Regions from separate parts of the Homo sapiens genome. Here all the other regions are linked to region 3. Evidence: promoter capture Hi-C in 16 types of primary human blood cells and fetal thymus (Javierre and others, 2016). All regions are on one chromosome and are shown on one strand. Each heading gives the region's core, a stretch centred on a gene start or on the middle of the fragment in contact. The rest is flanking DNA. Distances are from core to core; before and after follow the strand shown.

Region 1 (2,700 bases), core at 11-2,510, 350 kb before region 3:
AGGGAGACTAGTCAAACAACGTAGCAGTAAAAAAATAACCACAAAATTCTAGGGAAGAATCTTAGACATTCTAATCACCAGATTCTGATACTTGGAATCCATATTATGGACACTAAGCACGGGAAAAGAAATGTGGGAAAAACGGGTGAGGTACAAAATGGAAGAGCCGGGCACAAGACGATGCGTAAACGAGATCTGACTGAGACTGCTGCTGTCAGGCACGAGGAGAGCTGTCGCCCGACCCTGGTGTGTCCCTTTGTTTCCAAGCATTCCCACCTGGTCCTCCTGTGTGGGGACTATTGTCTTTATTTTCTAAATAAGAGAAATTTTCTCACGCACTTTAAAAGCTTTATAAGTATATACGAACAATACACAGAAGTACCAGTAAGGCAGCCTCTAAAACTGGAGTTAGACTAAGAAATCGACATGTATCAACAAACTCAGAGCCACAGCTGAATGATATCAACACAGTTAAAGAATGTGACACAGAGTGAGTGAGGAAACTCAGCAAATGGGGAGTCTGGTGACGGTGGCAAGGTCTTCGCACTGCGCACAGGATGGGACTCCGACCCAAGGGTTCGGTGGCAGACCAATGCATGCACCACACTGCCTCCAGTCTAGATGTTAGCAGCTCTTTGATATACCTCAATTCAATGGTGGCTTTTCAAGAAAAAGAATGCATGCTACCACATTAAGTAAAATAATTAATTGAAAGTCATACAACAATCTTAGAATCTTCAGTATCAAGTAAAAAACAGTTTATACCTCCTTGGGGAGAAGGACACATGAGCCTGACATCCTTAAGCACTTGTATTATCCAGCTCACTCCTCACAGGCTAACTCTGTGCTCACCAAGCAGCCTTCCAATTATATTACCCTTCGGCATCTGAATTTTCTACATGAAGAGAACATGCCAATATGGAAAGGCAGGTGGTGGGGCCTTTGCTGATGTTAATAAACTCACATTCTAGTTTATTCCCCAGGCTCTTGTGAGCACACTCAGCATGAATGCTGCTCCTAGAGCTCAAGTCATTTTCTGTGCTCTAACAAATCCGAACTTCTTAGTCCCTCAAGCAAAGGATTAGACCTGGAATGCAGGGCCTTACTGGGGTGCTGCCATGGTGGGAATCTTGCTGGGAATGAGTGAGCTGGTCTGCACCACCCCTATTAAATCACCTCCCATCAGTTTCCCAACAGCACACACAGTAAAATTAAACACATCTACTTTGAACTTGGGAAATATAAACGTTAAAGCTCCTTAACCTTCAAAAGTTGACTGCCTGGCAGCGTGTGGTGGCTCATGACTATAATCTCAGCACTTTGGGAGGCCAAGACGGGCAGATCACTTGAGGCCAGGAGTTAGAGAGTAGCCTGACCAACATGGCGAAACTCCATCTCTACTAAAAATACAAAAATTAGCTGGGTGTGATGGTGCATGCCTGTAGTTCCAGCTACCAGGAGGCTGAGGTGGGAGGATCACTTGAACCCGGGAGGCAGACGTTGCAGTGTGCTGAGATCACGCCACTGCACTGCAGCCTAGGTGACAGAGCGAGACCCTGTCTCAAAAAAAAAAACAACAACAAAAAAAACCAAAAAAAACCCCCAAAGTTGACAGCCCTAACTTCATGACAGCATTATGCAACTGCTTTTACTTTACAGTGAAATCAACTTTCATTTAAAAAAAAATTTGCTCCCCCAAATCAATCTATTTCTCACTGGATCTTGCTAATTAAAAAGCATTTGATTAAAAAATTAGCCAGACATGGTGTAGCATGCACCTGTAATTCTAGGTACTCAGGAGGCTAAGGTGGTGGGATACCTTGAGCTCAGGAGTATGAGGCTTCAGTGAGCTATGATGGTGCCACTGCACTCCAGCCTGGGCAACAGAGAGAAACCCTGTCTCTAAAAAATATAAGAATAAAAAATTTGAAGAGCAAAGCATTTGAGTGTTTGCGTGTGTGCGTGTCCACTGAAGGATGCAGAAGACGGATGGAGACAGAACTCTTCAGAAATAACTACTCAGAAATAACTGAGGTAAATACAGTTTATAGCTCTTCAATTACTCTATGAAAATTTCCAAATCTCTGTTCTGAATGAGTCAAGGCAAAGGCATGAAAACACCCCTACAAGGCCGCATGTCCACATCTGTGGAAGGTTGCAGACTAAAAGCTTCCCATGTCAGCGCTGAGCAGACTTCTAAGTTAGCTGTGTATCACCACTCTGAGTCCCTTAAGAGAGCTGTTGTGAATCACCACAGCAGGGGTGAGACCCCATTCTGCCTGTGTTCCTGACTAACATTCACAGAAACACTCCGCGGGTACATGCAGTGCACCAAACATAGGTGATTCATTCAAAAGAAATCTGCCAAAACAGAAAGACAAGTAGAGCTAGGTTTAACGGTGTGCTCCCTGAAAACTTCTGGAACACATCTCTGAAATGTTCTCAGGTGCCAGGCAGCTTCTAAGAAGGCAGAGTAACCTCATCTCCTGTCTCCTATTACTCTTGCCTTTCATCAGGGGGTGTTCAAGAGGAGGCAGCAGGCAGCAGCAGCCTTTAAAAAATTTGTCAATAAAAGACAGCAGCTGGTCAACTGGAACAGTGCAGCTGAACTCCCAGCATCTGACACGGAATACCCTTCGCCTACAGCTGCCACCTCCCAGGCCAGGCCTCCAGCCCACCCTCCATACTGATGCTAGCTCT
Region 2 (2,700 bases), core at 111-2,610, 310 kb before region 3:
TCTATCCAGAGAATCATTCCTATAGGCAGGGGTAGTGCTGAACGGCTGCGCTGATTTTTCAGTGCCAGGATGTACTGGCCCCTTTTCTGTGAAGACAGCAGTTAAGAGGCTGGGTTGACGGGGGGGCCCTCAGACCCAGTTCTACCGGATTCTACCACTGACTAGCTGTGTGACCTTGGACAAGTGACTTTGCCTCTCTGAGCCTCCTCAGTTTATTTGTCTCTAACATGGGAATTCAACTGGTTCCTGCCACAGCTGGCCCCCGGGAGGACTTGTGGGTAATGCTGGTGAATTCTGAGAGCAGGATCTGGCTTGTGTTAAGGCCTGGAGGAACGGCCTCCATATGGGCCCCCCGAGCCAGGAACAGCCCTTCCCACCAGTTTCATTCCCTTATGGCACTTACCCCCAACACATGGGGCCTGGAGGTGTGACTGCTGATGTGTGTGTCCCATGGAGTGCTGGGAGCTGATTCTCCAATTTCCTTAGGGCCCTTGGTTTACTGTATCACATTTGACCGCTGCTCAGAGGGACATGTATGAAACTGAACCCCTTTCCTTTCACAGATAAGAAACCTGAGGCTCCCAGAAGGATGATGACGGCGGCCACTGAGGTCCCACACTCAGTGGGTAGTAGAACCATGGTCTCCCCTCTCCTCGCCAGCCACCTTACTCTAGCCCTGGTGCTGGGAAAGAATTTTCGAAGCAACACACACCGGGAATGGAGGGAAGAGGAGTGACCTCCAGCTGCCTCCTTGGGCAGTGAACTTGAATGAGTGGGGTTGAGGAGGAAAAGGAGATCACAGACACCCCGGGGACTCCCGCCAGAAGTGGGCGAGGCTGTGCAGGTGGCTGGAGGACCGGGGTGAGCGAGCAGAGGGGGAGGCTGGGAGAGTAAAATTCACGTTATTACGGGCAGGGTGACTCATCTGTGCCAACAGGCTGGTGAGACATAGAGAAACCCCAGGCACAGGAAGATGAAATGGGATAACGTGTTTGAAGGTTCTTTGAAAACAGTAAATCAACCTAACAGCAGGGGCGCCAAGAGAGCTGGATTCAAAGCCTGCTTCTGGAACGCACCTAGGACCTTGGGCAGCGGCTTAGCCTCTTGGAACTTCAGTTGCTCATCTGAAAGGTGGGGGTGGGGGTGGTAGCAGCCTCAGCAGGAGCGATGTGGATACAGTGGGTGGCACAGTCCTGGCATATGCAATGTCTATCAGCCACAACGATGGAGAGGAAGAAACTGGGCCCTCCAAGACGCCCTTCCTCACTGTGTCTTCCTGTCCAATTCTTACCCATCCTTCAGCCTCACCTGATTCCCTTAGGCAGGAAAGCCCTCTGTCTTCTCTGCACTTTCATGACAGCCTTTCCATAGCTCTTATCAGACAAGGCCTGGCATTCATTGCTCTTTCAGGAGGGATGTCATCCAGTGGCCTGGGGGTCTGCAGGGCGGGGCCTGGGCCTTATTCATCTCTGTGCCTTGACTTTCTCCCGAGAGTCATCAGTGAACACTTGTTGAATGGCCAGAAGAGGCAGAAACAGCAGCAGGTGGTAGCTTTCTGGGCCTTGCTATCAGAAAAGAATATGTTATTTGAGCTAATGAAGTAAAGAGGAGAAATGAATTTGTAAATGCATTTTTTAAAGCTCTATCAAGTTCTTTTTTTTTTCTTGAGATGGAGTCTCGCTCTGTCACCCAGGCTGAAGTGCAGTGGCATGATCTTGGCTCACGGCAACCTCTACCTCCCACGTTCATGCGCTTCTCCTGCCTCAGCCTTCCTAGTAGCTGGGATTACAGGTGCACGCCATCATGCCTGGCTGAATTTTGTATTTTTAGTAGAGACGGGGTTTTGCCATGTTGGCCAGGCTGGTCTTGAACTCCTGACCTGAGGTGATCTGCTCACCTCAGCCTCCCAAAGTGTGGGGATTACAGGCGTGAGCCACCAAGCCTGGCCTGACCAAGTTCTTTTGATGAGTACTATTTAATTCACTTTTTTTTTTAAATGAATGGAGTCTCCTGTTTGCTTTTGTCTTTGGGCTCTGCTGCAGATTAATGAATAAGAATGTCCCATATAGCCCACAGGATGATAAATCCACCTGGAATGTTTGTGAAAGAGCTGGGCAGGGAAAGTTGGTCCAATTGTAGAAAGCTGTATCACCAGCCATCAGCCAAGACAAAATAGATGAAGAGAAAAAGCATCCACTCTCAAGGATTAGAAAAATCGAGAGCTTGCACTTGCGGGCATTTGTGTGACATGATCTTCCTAAGCCACGGGTCGCTCATCTGTAAAATGGGGAAAGCAGGGCTACCCCTGCAAGGACACTGAGAGGTTTGAGGATGATGTGCGTAGTACCTGGCTGGGAGCGGGTGCTCAATAATGCCAGCTACTCTTGCCATCACCACTCAGCGTGACGTGAGCTTCTTTTCTGGGCTAATTACGTGAAGTTTAACATGAGCTTCTATAATAAAATGACCTGTATCTATTTCTTTTTTTTCTTTTTTCTTTTCTTTTCTTTTTTTTTTTTTGAGATGGAGTCTCACACTGTCGTCCAGGCTGGAGTGCAGTGGCGCCATCTCGGCTCACTGCAACCTCCGCCTCCCAGGTTCACGCCATTCTCCTGCCTCAGCCTCCCAAGTAGCTGGGATTACAGGCACCCACCACCATGCCCAGCTAATTTTTTTGTATTTTTAGTAGAGACAGGGTTT
Region 3 (2,700 bases), core at 109-2,608:
GGCAAAAGTCACAAAGCTACAGTGACAGTCAGAATTGGAACCCAGCCTCCCACTATCCAGTCCAGCACCATGTGGAAACATCCCACAGCAATAATCCCATGGAGATTTGGGATTTGGAGGCTTGCAACACTGTGCCCAAACAGCAGACAAGGCTCTGGTCACAGTCACCCCCAAGTCCCCTGCTTCTTTGTTTTTTCTTTTACTTTTTTTTTTTTTTTTTTTTTTTTGAGACGGAGTCTCACTCTGTCGCCCAGACTGGAGTGCAGTGGCACAGTCTCAGCTCACTTCAACCTCCGCCTCCTGGGTTCAAGCCATTCTCTTGCCTCAGCCTCCTGAGTACCTGGGACTACAGGTGTAGGCCACCACGCCCGGCTAACTTTTGTATTTTTAGTAGGGACGGAGTTTCATCATGATGGCTAGGGTGATCTCGAACTCCTGACCTCAGGTGATCAACCCGCCTTGGCTTCCCAAAGTGCTGAGATTACAGGCGTGAGCCACCACGCCCAGCCTGCTTCTTTGTTTTCTAAGCTGTCCCACCTTCTAGAACATGACAGAGTCTCCAGTGAGAAGGGACATGCAATAAAAATCAATGTAGTCTAGGGCCTCGAGAGGGCTTTGAGGTCCAAGGTTTGCCCTAAGTGATGGGACACTTTGTGTTTTGTACACCAAGAGCGCTGTCTCCAGCTATCTGGAGAGTCTGAGGCTCTGGGAGTGAGAAAGGGTTTCTAAAGCACTGGCTGCTTCTTTGACATCTCTCCCCACCCCCCAGGCAACAGAGCCAAGACACACACACCCCAACTTTCTCTGTCCTGTTCTATTACTGTTTGCTGTTGCTTTGGAGCCTCATAAATAGGGCATTGAAAGCACTTCCTGCAGCTGAAAGAAGCCCTGAGTAGCTCGTCTCATTCCCAGCGTGCAGCTCAGCAAGGGGTCCGTCCTTCTCTGTCACTGTCTCTTTTGCCTGTTGTAATTCTGTCTGCCTCTCTGGGACTCTGCCTGTCTCACTCTTTCTGTCTGTGCCTCTCCTCACTCTTGTTCTTTCTGCCTGAATCACAGCCCTCAGTTTTTCTGTCCTCATGCATTTGTCTTTGTGGCTCTTTCCGTCTTTCTGCCCTTGACACCATCCCCTCTCCCAGTGCTTCCCCTCTGCTTCCAGATCGCTTCATGACTTAGGCAGGGAAACAGAGGTCAGGGCCTCCTTCCAGGCTTCCCTCTGCATCTTACTGAGTATGCAGGTCGGAAGAGCCTCGGGTCCTGCCTCCGCGGGTGGCCTAGAGCCAAAGGAAGGCGGAGCCCGTCGGGGCGGGATTGGCCCTTAGGGCCACCTCATAAAGCCTGGGGCGAGGGGCACAACGGCCTTGGGAAGGAGCCCTGCTGGGGCCGTCCAGTCCCCCAGACCTCACAGGCTCAGTCGCGGATCTGCAGTGTCATGCCTGGGAGCCCTCGGCCCGCGCCAAGCTGGGTGCTGTTGCTGCGGCTGCTGGCGTTGCTGCGGCCCCCGGGGCTGGGTGAGGCATGCAGCTGCGCCCCGGCGCACCCTCAGCAGCACATCTGCCACTCGGCACTTGGTGAGTCCGAGGTCCGCGAGGTCCACAGCAGGGGGTGGTTGTGGGGGATTAGTATCTGGCCAGCAGTACACCAGGAGTCCAGAGGAAAAGGGAGGAGCTCAAATTCTTACCGGTTGTCTCTTGCTGAGGCTGATGGGTGGAGAAGGACCAGGCGCCATAGCAACCTTGCAAGCCCAGAACCTGACTGATTCATAAGGAAATGAAGATTTCATCAGGGACTTCCATAGCGACCTCCCTCACTCCGGCCATACTGCAATTATGGAGTGTCATTACACAAGGTGTCACCGGAGCTATCTGATGATTATTCTGAACTACTAGACTGGGGACAGAAAGGGGAGGGGAGAGGGCTTGCATTGTAACTACCCGTGTCTGTCCAGGCCTATAACTGAGGTTGCCACCAAGCCCCTATGGCAACACACACGTTCTGTCCTTTCTCTTCCCTCTGCCTGGAATGCCCTCCCTCACACCCTTAAATTCCTGGCAGACTCCTACTCATCCTTCAAGGGCTAACTTAGGTCTCTCCCCTTCTCTGCAGGCTCCCGGGCTCCTTGGTGCCGCCTCAGCATCTCTAACCGTCTTAGCGCTCCTACTATGCTGTGCTGTTGTTCTTTACACGTGTGCACTCCACTAGATCAAGAGCTCGGCAGGATGGGGACCCTGTCTTAATCACATCTATGGGCCTAGTGCCTAGTGCAAGGCCAGGCACAGAGGAAGAACATCATCAACAGTTTTTGGTTATTAATGCTCAAATGGCAAGAGATGCAATACCTCAGTGCAGGGTCAGAACATTTATGAATTCAATAAACATTTACTAATATCAACTGTAGGCGGGATGAGAGGCCTTGACCACAGCAATAGATAAACTTCACACCGACTGCCCTGAAGGGGCTCCTCCTCCCTTCTCTACTCTGACTCCTACCCTGTGCCCCACTGCACAAACGGCTATGGAGAACTAGAGCTCTCCAGACTAACTGGTTCAAAAGGCAGAAACAGCTTAGCGGTTATAGGACCTAATAAGCCTGAGGGGTTTGGAACTTCCAGTGACTGCAGGGGAGGTGTTTCCAGGTCCCCCTTCTCACACATCACGTTGCTCACAACCCAGCCACACCAAAACCAAGAACTGCCCTATAGA
Region 4 (2,700 bases), core at 114-2,613, 260 kb before region 3:
TTTTAAAGTGAATCACGACTTGACCCTGGACTTCACAGCTCCAAAGGTAAACTATGCCATACTGTGATCTATTTGCACCCTAGGCATTTAAAGGCCGGTATTCCGCATGATGTGATGGTAGAGAGTGTAGAGTCTGAGCCAGCATGCCTGGCTCACAATCCTGTCTCCATCTTTTGCTAGCCACGTAACCTTGCGCAAATGAGAAAACCTCTCAGTGCTTTGGTTTCCTCATTTGTAAAATGGTCCTTACTTCCCTGAATTGTTGTGAGGATTGAATAAATATGCATGAAGTGCTTAGAACACTGCCTGGCACACAGCAAGTATTAAATAAATGTTTGCTATTCTTATGACTACTGCACTATGCACCTGATTTCAGAAACATTCTCCTTTCAACTGGACAACAAAAGATGACAAAGGGATCGTGCTCTTTATAATACATTGTGCAGTTATATACAGTTTACCACTATCCCCCGACGGGTTTTTCACAGAGGATACACTGTAGAGTACATACAAAAAGCTCACCTAAAGTCCACTTCAATAGGAAAACTTGCCACTTAAAAACAATTTTTATACAGAGAGATGAAAGTAAAACTTTCTTCTACTCATGAGAGGCTAATGAAAGTAATGTTTAGATTGTGCGTGGTGGCTTATGCCTATAATCCCAGCGCTTTGGGAGACCAAGGTGAGAAGATTGCTTGAGGTCAGGAATCTGAGATCAGCCTGGGCAACATAATGAGACCTCATCTCTACAAAAAAATTTTTAAAATTAGCAGGGCATGTTGGTGTGCAGCTGTTGTCCTGTCTACTTGGGAGGCTGAGGTGGGAGAATCACTTGAGCCCAACTGTAAAATGGCCACGTATTACTTTTATGAAGTAGCATGATCATAGCTTACTAACTGCAGTTAGAAGCTGCAGTGAGCTATGACTGTGCAACTGCACTTCAGTCTGGGTGACAGAGTGAGGCCCTGTCTCACAAAAAAAAAAAAAAAAAAAAAAAGGAAAAAAAAAAAAGAAAAAAAAAAGAAAAAAGTCACACTCAGAAGAAAATCTGGCTTTTGGAATTGGTTAGTCAGATCATGTACTACTTGCAGGGCCAAAAATACAACAAATTGCTAAATAACTAAATTTATTTCTATGTTGTGTGTTCGGTTCACATTGCATTCTTAATCACAACCAACTACCTCACAAAGGTACTTTAAGGGAAGCCATCAGAGGAATCCACACAAGAGAGTGGGTGGAGGTCAGTAGGTATTCCTTAATTCCTGATATCACAAAAGCAATTCAAAGTAGTATCTTACTGATGGTGGGGCAGGAGCATGATTTGACCAGAAATACTTAGTGGTCCCTTCTCTACATCAAGTGAGCATTGTCTTAAGCAAAGTTATACATGCCATTACTTACAGGAACCAAAGATTAGACTGGCCTCTAATCTTCCTTTCTGGAAGGAAAAGAAAGAGACAAAGAAAAGAAAAGAAAAAGAAAAAGGAGAAGAGGGCATTTGACTGGAAAAAATATATTGTTGAGGGATGAAAGAGAAGATCCTGGGTTACTTATAACCTTCACACCGCAAACCTATGACACTCTTTCTTGGTACAGTGTTTTGCACGTGTAGTGATGATTCATGGCATCATGCCACTGGCACTTAAAGTGACAATGCAGACTAACACTAAGGAAATCCAAAATTCTTTTGGCCACCCCACCATCATCCCACCCTCTTTCATAGAAGATCAAAAGACAAATCTTACCTCCACTGAGAATAATGACAGCAATAAATATTGCCAAGTCGCTGTCATCTAATTCCAGTGCATTGAACTTCACAGCAAACTCAAACTTGGGCTCCATAAAGTCACCAAAAGGCTTTCGCAGGCTCTTTAGAAACTCCCTTGTCATGAAGCCTTGGCCCTCGGATATGAGAACCCCATCTTTATTCATCAAGGAGGCCAGCATTGTGTAAATGATCTCGTGGACTCCATATTTGAGGAGAGTTACTTGGTCGTTCAAGTCAAGATTTACAAAACCAGGAATGCTTTTGGCATACTCTGTGATCTCCTGCACAGCCTCCACGGAGCGAAACTGGCAGCCCTGAAAGATGCGGATGGCCACCTCTTTGCTCTGCTCCTGCAGGGGGGTGATGTGTTTGAACTTGATTTTATCTTCTCCCATCATTAAGGAATTCATGTCATAGATAACGAATGGCTGCAAATAAAACAGGGAAAACGTGGATGACTTGGAGATTTCTAACTCACAGTGAATGCCATCCCAGGTTCAGAAAACTGTTTATGTAAACTTGCTTTGCTAACTAAAATCTTTAAAGCTGAAGATGCTTAATAATGAGAAAATACTCTCAAGTTCTTTTATTCATCTTAATTATCTTCTGGGACCAAACATATTTCACCAATTTTGGTCTTCTTTCCCTTCAATTTACACTGTAACACTTTACCTATGACTGGCTAAGAATCCTGATTTCTTTTGTTTGGGGAGTCTTCATTGTTGATTTTTATATTATTTGTTTGTTTGTTTTTGAGACAGAGTCTCACTCTGCGCCCAGACTGAATTACAGTGGCACAATCAGGGCTCACTGCAACCTCCACCTCCCAGGTTCAAGCAATTCTTGTGCCTCAGCCTCCTGGGTAGCTGGGATTACTGGCATGCACTGCCACACCCAGCTGATTTTTGTATTTTTAGTAGAGATGGGGTTTC
Region 5 (2,731 bases), core at 203-2,702, 330 kb before region 3:
GGCCGGGAGTGGGAGCAGGGATTAAGTGTGATGGGCACAAGGGAACTCTGTGGTGATGGGAATGTTCTAAAACTGGACTGTGGTGAGAGTTGTGCAACTCTATAAATTTATGACAATCACTGAATTGTATACTTACAATGGGAGGACTTTATAGTTGTAAATTATAACTCAATAAAGCTGTTTTTTAAAAATGCCCACAGCAATGAACAGATTATGGAAAATTTTTTTTAAAGAACTACCAGTCTTCATTCAACTTGATCAATGCTGGAAAACAGTAAAAACTAGAACTTGTCCTCATCTGAGAAGAGGTCCCCAACCAGGAGGCAGCAGATAAGGAGCTCCATGCCAAAGCCCCATCTGATCCGTGCCTGAGTAGGGACACTATGCCACGCTGTGGCTACCTCTGGGAACGGGATGGGAGTGAGTGGGGAATTTTCACTTTTTTACCCATTACATTTCTGTAAATTACTTTTTTTGTTCCTTTAACAAACATGCATTGCTTTTACAACTAAAGACAAAAAAAATAGTCAATCCATTGAACCTACTTCATCACTGAAATAAAGGTTTGTGGGCAGGGGTGCTCCATCTGTCATTCTATTACCCTAACATATGGCTTTTGGGCACTAATTCAAATTGTACTTTTCCTACAACTGGACCAAACCGCAAGGAAAGAATACACATTGTTCATGGTTGGTGTGGGGGTATGGCTGGGATGGGGAGAAGGAAAGGACTGCTTGCTCAGGGTTGTCTGAAAGTAATCTTACCAAGGCTGCCTGCACTTACTTTCCCATAGAGCTGCTCAATGTCCTCCGCATTCCTCACAATCACATTGTTGTTAATCATTTCAGCACGGAATATCTTGAATTCTTTCAGAGGACCATGGTCCTGACCAAAAGGGATTGGCAATGGAGACTCGTAAGTCTCATACACTCTTCTTTTCCTCTTTGGGGCATGGAAAACTGCTTCTGCCATTTTTCAGAGGAGGTATTCTTTAAAGAGTAGACAACAAACAGAAAGAAACAGACAATCAATAACTACCTTGATCCAAAATGTGAGTACATCTGTACCTAGGCTCAGAAAACTTAGTGGTCTGTGGGAAGAAATAGAGTATTTATAAAGCAATAAACTAAAAGCAGTAAGAACAGTTTGTGTGAGCAATGTAAATCATATTGACCTAGAATACTGCAATTAATCCCCACAATAAACCCCAGGAAATGAGTGGTAATCTTTCTACTCCAGCTGACAACGCTGAGACCTAGTGACATGCCCAAAGCTGCAATGTTAGGTCTCCTGAGAGCAAGCACAACAGGATTTCTGTCTACCAGGAGTGCTTCCATTTCACTCACCCAACAGACATTTACTACCAGGAATTCCTAATAATCATAGGTGCTGGGGAGACAAAGACAAAACTGAGACCCTGTCCTCAACAAATTAAATCTTGCAGGCACTTCATTTTCCAAGAGGATCTTACAATACACACTAAACATTGGGTCAATCAGCTCCCAATTTTTAAAGTACATTAATAAATAATAATGACAGCAGCAGTTATTTAAGGGTCGATTATATACTACCAAATGCTACTGGCTTCAAGCAGGGACTCTAAAGCCAGACTATCAGCATCAGAATCAACTTTACCACTTCCTAGCAGTGTGATTTTGGGCAAAAGTCACTGACTCTCTCTGTGATTTAGTTTCCTCACCTGCAAAATCAAGATAAGAACGACTCTATCTTACAGTTAAGATCCATAAAGTGCTTAGAACAGTACCTGGCACATAGCGTGTACCATTCATGTATCAGCTATAATTAGTATTACAGGGTGAGCAGTAGCAACACCATTTTACAAATAGGAAACAGATTCAGGTTAGAGAGATTTGTAGACGACCCCGAGTGTGGTGGCATCGGGTGACCCAGGTCTGTTGAACTCCCAAGCCCATGCCCTCTCTCTAGATTCTGCTGAAAGCACAGGCAGGGTCTATCTACTTTTGTCTGATGACTCTTTCTCAAAATCAGACGGTGAAGGGTTATTGAGCAGTAACGGAATTACCCACTGTGCACCCAGCACCATGAGGGAGAACAGAAAGCCAAAGCCAGTACGTGTCCCTCTGGGGCCATACATTGGATCCAAGGAGACAAAACAAGTATATAACATAGCTGGAAGCACAGAAAGCAGGTTGGAGCTAACGGAACTGGCTGTTATCCACTAATGTCTAAAGGAGGGAAGTAAATGTGAACATATTGTGTGATGCAGACACAGAGATACAGTAGATGCACTTAACCTAGGAAAACGTAACCATATACATGGGAAAACAATGTAAATGGTGCAAGACATTCCACTCGAGGAGCAGCTGTCCTGGAATGAGATGGGAAACTTGAATCTGCTGCTCCCCCAGTACTAGGTCTAGACTTGATTTCAACTGAGAGCTTACCTGGTGCTTGAAGATACAGTGCGGCCAAATCATACACACGTTTAACCTACATGACTCCGAATCCTCACAAGGGAAAAAATAAGACTAATTACTTAGGTGGCTCCTGCACTCAGTACTTGCATCCCATTGGCAAGGGATGCCATCAAGCCTGAAACAGTCAAGAAGGTGGCCAAAACTGAGGGAGGGGAAGGTGAGTGGCTTTAAGAGTGTCATGACCATTAAGAAAAGGCTTATCCAACGTGTGATGATATCAGTATCCAACTTCTCAAGGAAGAAGCTGAGGAATTATATGAGGACACAGAAAA
Region 6 (2,760 bases), core at 124-2,623, 380 kb before region 3:
GAACTGGGTTTCTCTCAAGGAAATGATTGCTGATAACAGGGAAGGCTACAAAAATCCCTCCATGACTGTAGGCAAATCTAAATCTCATTAGGTGGATGGAAGATTCTAGAACCTCCACCCTGGATTTATGTTACGTAAAGTTACCACATGGCTACTGTCATTTTCTGATGTCTCTTTTTCACAGAGGTGTGTGTTTCCTTGGGGCTCCACATGACTTTGGTTTTGATTTGCAGGGGTTGTGTATAATTACAGTGCACATGGTGTCCAGCGAGACGGAGAAGGGTGGGAAGAGAGCATAAGCATCCCATTACTGCAGCCCAACATGTATGGAATGATGGAGCAATGGGACAAGTACCTGGAAGACTTCTCCACCTCGGGGGCCTGGCTGCCTCACAGGTACACGACTGCAAATGCTGCCCCCTCGCTGACACTCACATGCTATGCAAGTGGGATCCCCGTGTAGCCTCAGCTCACAGAGGACTCAGCAGCACTTAGCTTCATGTTGAGCCGATACAGACATATTAGCATCTCTAACAGAATTTAAACAGAGGTTGAACTACCCTAGGTTTTCTGCAGAGGTGGGTCAGCATACACATACAACAAAATCACAGCGTTGTAAGAGCTGAAAGGTCTAGAACCTGTATTCAGTTATTTTAGTTATGTGACAAGGTATTTTTACACATAAATAGCAAGTCACGATATTATATTTCCTTAAAAATTAAAAAAAACAATATTCAGGCTGGGCACAATGGCTCTCGCCTGTAATCCCAGCACTTTGGGAGACTGAGGCAGGTAGATCACCTGAGGTCAGAAGTTCGAGACCAGCCTGGACAACATGGTAAAACCCCGTCTCTATTAAAAATACAAAAATAGCCAGGCGTGGTGGTGGACGTCTGTAGTCCCTACTTGGGAGGCTTGGGCAGGAGAATCACTTGAACCAAGAGGCGGAGGTTGCAGTGAGCTGAAATCACACGATTGCACTCCAGCCTGGGCAAGAGAGTAAGACTTCGTCTCACCAAAAACAAAAAAACACAAAAACCAATGTTCAAAATGTAAAAGCTTCTTTTTTGTAATTTTAGCAATTTCCAGTTAATTTCTCACTCTCAACATTTTGTAAGACGTATAGCATGTTTGTGGATTTAAATTATTTGGAGGTTTCCCCCGAAATAAGTTTAGATACTATGGAATATCATAAAACTCATATGGAATTCCATCTCTAAACTCTAGAAGTTCAATAAGTTCCCCAAATTGGTAGTTAACTTGCAACTGAGTAACCACTCTGAACATCTGGGTGAGTCTATGCCAATCTGCAGCAAGCAGAAACGGCCCAAGAGACCAAGCATCCCCCAGAATTGCATTTTTTTTTTTTTTTTTTTTTGAGATGGAGTCTTACTCACTCTGTCACCCAGGCTGGAGTACAGTGGTGCGATCTTGGCTTACTGCAACCTCTGCCTCCCGCCGGTTCAAACAATTCTCCTGCCTCAGCCTCCCAAGTAGCTGGGACAACAGGCGTGCACCACCATGCCCAGCTAACTTGTATTTTTTGTAGGGACGGGGTTTCACCATGTTGGCCAGGCCAGTTTCGAACTCTTGACCTCAAGTGATCCTCCCACCCTCGCTTCCCAAAGTGCTGGGATTACAGGTGTGAGCCACCGCACCCGGCCTGAAGTGCACATCTTGAAGCTTCTTAACCACATAAGCCAGCACATGCAGGGGCCTTGCTTGCTGAGGCACCCGATTTCAGTTAGGAAAGGCCTTCAGTAGCTTGACAGCCTGTTCTGAGCAGCCTTTTCTTCTCAACACCCTTATTCTCCTCCATAAGGTATGAAGACAACCACCATAACTGCTACTCTTACGCACTCACGTTCATTAACTGCGTTCTGATGGCAGAAGGTAGACAGCAACTGGACAAGGGTGAATTTACGGAGAAGTACGTGGTCCCGCGGACAAGGCTGGCATCCAAGTTCATCACACTCTACCGGGCGATACGGGAGCATGGCTTCTACGTCACTGACTGTCCCCAGCAGCAGGCACAACCCCCTGAGGGCGGCGGTTTGTGCTGAGAGCTATGTAAGCGCAGCCTGGACGCTGGAGGGTAGGGTGGTTGCTACCTTTAATCAGTACTATGGATTTCTAAATGCATTTAACTGTGGTTAATAAAAGCGTGTATGGGCCGGGCATGGTGGCTCACACCTGTAATCCCAGCACTTTGGGAAGCTAAGACAGGTAGGTCACCTGAGGTTGGGAGTTTGAGACCAGCCTGACCAACATGGAGAAACCCCGTCCTTACTAAAAATATAAAATTAGCTGGGCATGGTGGCGCATGCCTGTAATCCCAACTACTAGGGAGGCTGAAGCAGGAGAATCGCTTGAACCCGGGAGGCGGAGGTTGGGATGAGTTGAGATCGTGCCATTGCACTCCAGCCTGGGCAACAAGAGTGAAACTCCATCTCAAAAAAATAAAAAATAAAAAATAAAAACGTGTATGGCTTTCCTTCAAGCATATGTCAGCTTACTACATCATAAGACTTCATAAAATAAAAATTGCCCTAGGTTTTAAAAATTATATGCATTCCAACAAAATTATTTTCATATCAATGAGGTTTTTAAACTAAGAATCCATTTACAGCATAAAGTGGTAGCACATTTTATTCACAGAGCAATGAAAATTATTCCTATAAATTAATGTGAGCTGAACAAATTCACCTTCCAATGTGCATACAGAAAGTGGGGATGTGAAGACAGCAAGGTGGGTGAGAC

Evidence for each region. Contacts are between HindIII fragments. The CHiCAGO score rates a contact against its expected background, and 5 or more counts as called.
Region 1: a fragment that was not itself captured here is called in contact with the fragment with the promoter of TIMP4 in region 3 in 1 of 17 cell types (endothelial precursors); the score reaches 6.2 in endothelial precursors.
Region 2: a contact is called between a fragment that was not itself captured here and the fragment with the promoter of TIMP4 in region 3, in 15 of 17 cell types (M0 macrophages, M1 macrophages, megakaryocytes and 12 more). The highest score is 11.6, in M0 macrophages.
Region 4: a contact is called between a fragment that was not itself captured here and the fragment with the promoter of TIMP4 in region 3, in 1 of 17 cell types (monocytes). The highest score is 5.2, in monocytes.
Region 5: a contact is called between a fragment that was not itself captured here and the fragment with the promoter of TIMP4 in region 3, in 5 of 17 cell types (M1 macrophages, endothelial precursors, monocytes and 2 more). The highest score is 7.9, in M1 macrophages.
Region 6: a fragment that was not itself captured here is called in contact with the fragment with the promoter of TIMP4 in region 3 in 1 of 17 cell types (endothelial precursors); the score reaches 5.5 in endothelial precursors.

What each region holds. Positions count from the first base shown.
Region 1 is chr3:12,508,082-12,510,781 of GRCh38, reverse strand. All of the region lies in intron 6 of TSEN2 (tRNA splicing endonuclease subunit 2), which reads right to left. Among named protein-coding and RNA genes, the nearest start is that of TSEN2, 25 kb to the right of the region's middle. The HindIII fragment of the contact is 1,822 bases long and covers 350-2,171 here.
Region 2 is chr3:12,469,686-12,472,385 of GRCh38, reverse strand. No RefSeq gene overlaps it. Among named protein-coding and RNA genes, the nearest start is that of TSEN2, 13 kb to the left of the region's middle. The HindIII fragment of the contact is 5,789 bases long and covers 1-2,700 here.
Region 3 is chr3:12,157,570-12,160,269 of GRCh38, reverse strand. TIMP4 (TIMP metallopeptidase inhibitor 4) reads left to right here and starts at 1,358. Exons shown (of 5, transcript NM_003256.4): 1 at 1,358-1,568. The coding sequence starts at 1,430. All of the region lies in intron 5 of SYN2 (synapsin II), which reads right to left. The HindIII fragment of the contact is 8,121 bases long and covers 1-2,700 here.
Region 4 is chr3:12,416,200-12,418,899 of GRCh38, reverse strand. It overlaps PPARG (peroxisome proliferator activated receptor gamma), which reads right to left. Exons shown (of 8, transcript NM_138711.6): 7 at 1,746-2,196. Among named protein-coding and RNA genes, the nearest start is that of TSEN2, 67 kb to the left of the region's middle. The HindIII fragment of the contact is 9,374 bases long and covers 1-2,700 here.
Region 5 is chr3:12,488,042-12,490,772 of GRCh38, reverse strand. TSEN2 (tRNA splicing endonuclease subunit 2) reads right to left here. Exons shown (of 12, transcript NM_025265.4): 2 at 784-989. The coding sequence starts at 972. Among named protein-coding and RNA genes, the nearest start is that of TSEN2, 4.9 kb to the right of the region's middle. The HindIII fragment of the contact is 5,707 bases long and covers 1-2,731 here.
Region 6 is chr3:12,539,496-12,542,255 of GRCh38, reverse strand. It overlaps MKRN2OS (MKRN2 opposite strand), which reads left to right. Exons shown (of 4, transcript NM_001195279.2): 3 at 234-396; 4 at 1,823-2,480. The coding sequence ends at 2,063. It also overlaps a transcript of TSEN2 not described here. Among named protein-coding and RNA genes, the nearest start is that of MKRN2OS, 4.6 kb to the left of the region's middle. The HindIII fragment of the contact is 624 bases long and covers 1,062-1,685 here.